Regions from separate parts of the Homo sapiens genome. Here region 2 is linked to region 1. The links are contacts of gene promoters, found by promoter capture Hi-C in human tissues and cell types (Jung and others, 2019). All regions are on one chromosome and are shown on one strand. The core of a region is centred on a gene start or on the middle of the fragment in contact, and the rest is flanking DNA. Distances in the headings are between cores, read along the strand shown.

What was found. The method cuts DNA at HindIII sites, captures the fragments that hold promoters and counts their contacts. A contact is called where the count stands out against the background at its distance.
Region 2: a contact is called between a fragment that was not itself captured here and the fragment with the promoter of LRRC73 in region 1, in 1 of the 25 tissues and cell types used here (spleen).

What each region holds. Positions count from the first base shown.
Region 1 is chr6:43,508,765-43,511,790 of GRCh38, reverse strand. It overlaps LRRC73 (leucine rich repeat containing 73), which reads left to right and starts at 1,445. Exons shown (of 6, transcript NM_001012974.4): 1 at 1,445-2,277; 2 at 2,871-3,026. The coding sequence starts at 2,006. RefSeq lists silencers at 1,288-1,577, 1,598-1,867. The HindIII fragment of the contact is 5,504 bases long and covers 759-3,026 here.
Region 2 is chr6:43,029,936-43,033,081 of GRCh38, reverse strand. No RefSeq gene overlaps it. Among named protein-coding and RNA genes, the nearest start is that of RRP36, 9.9 kb to the right of the region's middle. The HindIII fragment of the contact is 7,304 bases long and covers 1-3,146 here.

The DNA of each region.
Region 1 (3,026 bases), core at 196-2,695:
CCTATATACTTTCCTACTCAGTCAACAGTGGTAATGTCATATGTTCCCTTCTTCATATCCTCACCCAGGCAAGATAAAGGTGGGACAGGCCAGACTACATAGAAGGCAGTGATTGAATATCACACCTGACCCATGAAGCGGCAGGGAGGCCTCAAGCACAAAAGCCATAAGCCTGATGGAACACTGCAGCCAGCTTGAGTCTGGGCTCAGCTGCTCTCTTGGGAAGCCAAGGAAGCAGTGACAATTGAACAAAACATCCCGACTTAAACCCCGTGTCAAAACAAGGATCTTCTGCACCTGGGCATTGTGTTGATAATTTTCCTGTGGAGCTCTTAATTGAAGCCAAATTTGGCTTTGCCTTGGTGGTACTGGGGCCAGCTCCTTTTAGTTTTTCTGTCTTTCCTCTTAAAACCAACCACCACTCCTAACATAGCACCATCCACCCCCACCACCTCTTTAATATGCTCCACTTAATAAGTTAATTCAGGTGGCTAAGAGTGGGAATAGGGCCTTTGACCTCCCTTCACTATATTGAATATTATATTTTATGTAAAATAATCATCTTAACACTAGTAAATCTGGGTCAGCAGCATCTATCCCTCCTAACAAAGGGACAAACAGAGGTGCCCTTCATTTGTCCTGCGTTACACAAGTGAGTCCCCCACCACCCTGGCCAGAGGACAAAGTTGAGACAGCACCGCCTGCACCGTGCAGTGTGGCTCAGCCGCCTTCACGTCCTCACCAGTGCTCCAGGGCCCTGGCCCTGGCACCTTCTTTGTATTGGCTGCCCCAGTCTCGCGGCACGGACACACCCTCAGATGTCAACAGTGCCCTGCGTACCTGAGAAGGTGTGGCACCAGGACCTTGCATCTATCTGAGGCTCCCCTGCCCTAGGGACCCTATGGGGTACCCTTCTCCCCAGCAGCTCAAGCTGGCTCTGCCCAGCCGTGGCCCCTGGGGCCTCCCTGATGAGGCCGCCATCTTGGCGAGGAGCAAGCGGGGAAGTCCCCATGGGCCGGGATCACCACGCACGCTGCGCCTCGAGTCACGGGGGCGGGAGCGAGGCGCGGCGCGGATGAAAGGGCCCTGGGGCCTTCCAAATAGGAGGGAACAGTGCCCTGGATTCCGGCGGGGGTATGGACCTTAGGAACGGGGAAGGATGGAAGAATGGGCAGAAGCAGCAGTAACCGTGCCCAACGCCATCTCCACGGGGCGTGCCTCCATTCCGCTCCCCGTCAGCCCTACCCACTCAGCCCTGCCGCCTGCCGCCTGCCAGTTGGCTGACCCCACTCCCAAGGGAAGAGCGGCCTATCGCTCCCAGCTCCTTGCCCCGAACCACCCAGTGTACGCGAACCTCGCGGGCCGGCGTGGCCTTGGCCGGGCAGGGGGCGGGGCGAGCGCCGGTGACGCGGCCGTTGCCATGGGAACTCGCCGCCCGCTCGCTCTCTGGAGCTGGAGCCGGAGCTGCCGCCAGCCGCCCGCCTCAGGCTCTCTCTGCCAGCCGTGCGGCCAGGCCCGCGGGGTGGTCGGGGGGAGCCGGGCGGCAGAGAAGGAGGGAGCGGGTACGGCCTCCTAGCCGAGACCGGTAAGCCGAAGCCCTTGAGCCGCTCGCTGCCGCTGCCGCCGCCGCCGCCGCGACCGCGAGGGACAAGGACAAGCGCCGAGCAGCGCCTGCCCAACCCCCGGAACGCGCACCCGCCCCAACGCCCAGACACGGACCGTGCGGGCCGCCCCCGCCCCAGCGCCGCCCCACTTCAGCCCGGCCCGCGCCCTGGACGCCTCCGCACCTCTGGCCGGCTCCGGCTCAGTCCCGGTAGCTCTTCTCCGCCCCCGCCGCAGCCTCCGCCGCAGCCGCAGCCTCCGCCACAGCCGCCGCCTCCACCCCCGGCCCCACTCCGCCCGCGACCCCTGCCGGGGCCCCGACCCCGGCCCTATCCCCGGCCCCGCCCGCGGCCCCACCAACCTCCGTTCCGGCCCCGTACCCGGAGGCCCAGCCGTGGGCACGATGCTGCCCAGCTCCATCCAGATTTCGGGGGAGCCGCTGTCCGGCGCCGAGGTGCGGGACATCTGCCGCGGCCTTCGCGACAACGCCGTGCGCCTGCTCTCACTGCGCGGCTGCCGCCTCTGCGACCGCGACTTTGGCCGCATCTGCCGGGCCCTGGCCGGGGCCACGTCCCTGGCGCAGCTCAACCTTAACCTGGGCGTCGTGTCCAGCCCCAGCCGCATCAAGCAGCTGGCTGAGGCTCTGCGGACCAACCGCTCCATCCAGTCCCTCTTGTGAGTGCGCCCCCTCGCAAGGGGGTCCCGGGCACTGCACCCTTCCATACACTCCCCTGGCACCTCCTGTTCCTCCACACTCCTTCCAGTACCATCCTACCTTCACATGCCTTATGCACATACACCGTGCCTCGGCCCATGCCTTCACAGCACCCTCCAAGCACATGCTTGGACTTTGCACGCGCGACCCTAGCCGTGTTGGGATACCCACCAGTTCCTGACATGAGGTGGGGGCCGTACCTCCCCACCTAATCATCTGCATTTACTTCACTGGGGCAGCTCCTTGGTTCCCAAGGGGGAATATCCCCGTGGGGACGAGAGCCCTGCCCACTGCAGAGTTCCGGTCCACCACCCACCCACCCCTTCTCTGCCCCTCCCTGTGCAATGTCCTGGATCCCTGCCCCAGAAAACAAACCGAATTCTCCCTCTATCTGTATTCCCTGAGAATCTAGAACTTTCCTTCTCCTTTTCCAGGCCTCTCAAGCGCTGTGACTGCCCTCCCCATACCTAGGGCTGACAGAAGTGAAAGTGCCCCTTTCCCATGTAGATAGTGCGGAGGACTGCAGTAACCCTGCTCTCTCACTCTCCTCCAGCCTGCATGGGAGCCCCCTGACAGATGCGGGGCTGGCCTTGCTGAACCCAGCCCTGGCCCTCCACCCTGCCCTCGTGGCTCTGGACCTGGGGGACTGCATGCTGGGTGATGAAGCCATCAACCTCATCTGTGGCCTCCTGCCCCCAGATGGGGCCAA
Region 2 (3,146 bases), core at 555-3,054, 480 kb after region 1:
GGGGTTTCACCGTGTTAGCCAGGATGGTCTTGATCTCCTGACCTCATGATCCGCCCTCCTCGGCCTCCCAAAGTGCTGGGATTACAGGTGTGAGCCACCGTGCCCGGCCCAAGAGCTGCCTTTTTTTAGATACAGGATCTCACTGTGTTACCTAGGCGGCAGTGCAGTGGCTGTTCACAAGCGCAATCACTGCATACTACAGCTTTGAACTCCTAGTCTCAAGTGATTGTCCCACCTCAGTCTCCTAACTGGGGGCATAGAGCTGCTTTTAAGGTAGGCATTCTTTCTTTAAGAAAGGGTCTTGCTCTGTCACCCAGGTTGGAGTACGGGTGGCACAATCACGGCTCACTGCCTCGACCTCCCAGGCTCAAGTGATCCTCCTGCCTCAGCCGCCTGAGTATTCTTTGTAGAGATGCAGTTTCACCATGTTGCCCAGGCTGGATAGACTTTCAAATGTTCCTGGCTTATGATTTATCTAGCCTTAAAAAAAAAACAAAAAAAACAAAAAAAAAACTAGGCCAGGTGCGGTGGCTCACACCTGTAAACCTATCACTTTGGGAGGCCTAGGTGGGTGGATTACTTGAGGTCAGGAGTTTGAGACCAGCTGGCCAACACGGTGAAACCCCATCCCTACAAAAAAAAAAATTAGCCAGGTGTGGTGGCATACACCTGAAATACCAGCTGCTCAGGGAGCTGAGGCAGAAGAATAGCTTTAACCTGGGAGGAAGAGGTTACAGTGAGCCAAGATCGTGCCACTGCACTCCAGCTTGGGCGACAGAGGGAGACCCCATCTCAAAAAAAATTCTAGAAAATGCCCAGCCTCTTTGAAATATTCTTTCCTGAAATTTTGATTGTCAAGTCTCACATTTATCTTCATTTTGTTGTTTTATAGACAGGATCTTGCTCTGTCACCCAGGCTGGAGTGCAGTGATGCCATCATAGCTCACTGCAACCTCAAGTTCCTGGGGTCAAGCAATCCTCCAGCCTGAGCCTCCAGAGAAGCTGGGACTATAGGCATGTGCCACATGTCTGATTTTTTAATTTTTTTTTAGAGACAAGGTCTCCTTATGTTGCCCAGGCTGGTCCCCAACTGAGGACCTCAAGCAGTCCTCTCTATGCCTCCCAAAAAGTTGGGATTACAGGTGTCAGCAACTACACCCAGCCTCTTCCATGTTTTTTAACCTCTTTTCCTTAGTTTCCACTTCTCTGTATGTCAGTGCTCTCTCTGTGTAACTTCAGATCTATTTCCAGTTCATTCTCCCTTTAGGGAGAAGTCTAATCTGCTGCTTAACCATAAAGTTTCTAACTTCTCGTAGTGTACTTTTTTTTTTCTGAGGTGGAGTATCACTCTTGTTGCCCAGGCTGGAGTGCAGTGGCGCAATCTTGGCTCACCGCAACCTCCGCCTCCTAGGTTCAAGCAATTCTCCTGCCTCAGCCTCCCAAGTAGCTAGGATTACAGGCATGCGCCACCACGCCCGGCTAATTTTTTGTATTTTTAGTAGAGACGGGGTTTCACCATGTTGGCCAGGCTAGTCTCGAACTCCCAACCTCAGGCGATCCACCCACCTCAGCCTCCCAAAGTGCTGGGATTACAGGCACGAGCCACCATGCCTGGCCCTACTTTTCATTTTTAAAAGGTTTTCTTTTTAAGTTTTACTTTTTTTTTTTTTTTTTTTGAGATGGAGTCTCGCTCTGTTCCCCAGGCTGGAGTGCAGTGGCACGATCTCGGCTCACTGCAAGCTCTGCCTCCCAGGTTCATGCCATCCTCCTGCCTCAGCCTCCAGAGTAGCTGGGACTACAGGCACCCGCCACCACGCCTGGCTAATTTTTTGTATTTTTAGTAGAGATAGGGTTTCACTGTACTAGCCAGGATGGTCTCCATCTCCTGACCTCGTGATCCACCCGCTTTGGCCTCCCAAAGTGCTGGGAACACAGGCGTGAGCCACCGTGACCGGCCTTAAGTTTTACTTTTTAATCACACCAGTTTAGTACCTTTTGATATTCATTTGTCACACTTTTTCTTTAAACATAAGACATTTTGTATTTTTTATTTTATACTTCTCACATTTTAATTTTTGCCAGTCTGGACGACAGAGTGAGACTCCATCTCAAAAACAAAAAACAAACAAAAAAAAAACAATCCTCAAGAAAGGATTACATTTGCTTCTGCCAGGACCCTGGAGACACTATCTACTTGAGACTTTTTTTTTTTTTGAGACGGAGTCTCGCTCTGTCGCCCAGGCTGGAGTGCAGTGGCGCGATCTTGGTTCACTGCAACCTCCGCCTCCCGCGTTCAAGCAATTCTCCTGCTTCAGCCTCCTGAGTAGCTGGGATTACAGGCGCCCACCACCACACCCGGCTAATTTTTGTATTTTTAGTAGAGACAGGGTTTCACCATGTTGGTCAGGCTGGTCTCGAACCCCTGACCTCGTGATCCACCTGCCTCTGCCTCCCAAAGTGCTGGGATTACAGGTGTGAGCCACCATGCCTGGCCATTTTTTTTTGGGGGGGGGGGCGCGGTGGTGATTTCACTCTTTTTGCCCAGGCTGGAGTGCAGTGGTGCGATCTTGGCTCACTGCAACCTCTACCTCCCAGGCTCAAGTGATTATCCTACCTCAGCCTCCTGAGTAGCTGGGATTACAGGCACCCACCACCACACCCAGCTAATTTTGTATTTTTAGTAGAGATGGGGTTTCACCATGTTGGCCAGGCTGGTCTTGAACTCCTGACCTCAGGTGATCCGCCTGCCTCGGCCTCCCAAAGTGGTGGGATTACAGGTGTGAGCCACCACGCCCAGCCTACTTGAGACTATTTTAAACTAAGTTATCAGCCTGAGGATTTTCCAGACCACATGGGTTATAAACTCTTGTCCCAAACAGTACTGAAGGCCAGCTGTGCTTGTATATTACCATGGAAGCTTTATATCCCTACCTCTTAACATCCCTTGCATCCAAAACCAAAGCCAAGTAGGGGAGTTGTGGGATTGGTTCACCCACTAAATGATCTTGTCATCCTTGAGGGGCCCAGATTTAAGTGGGAGGGGTTTCTGATCTGACTTCCCAGTTGTAGATGCCTTAGGCTTTATTGCCTATCCCAATATGTGGCCCACTAAAAAGTAGTTCTAGGCTACCCACAAATCCCACATA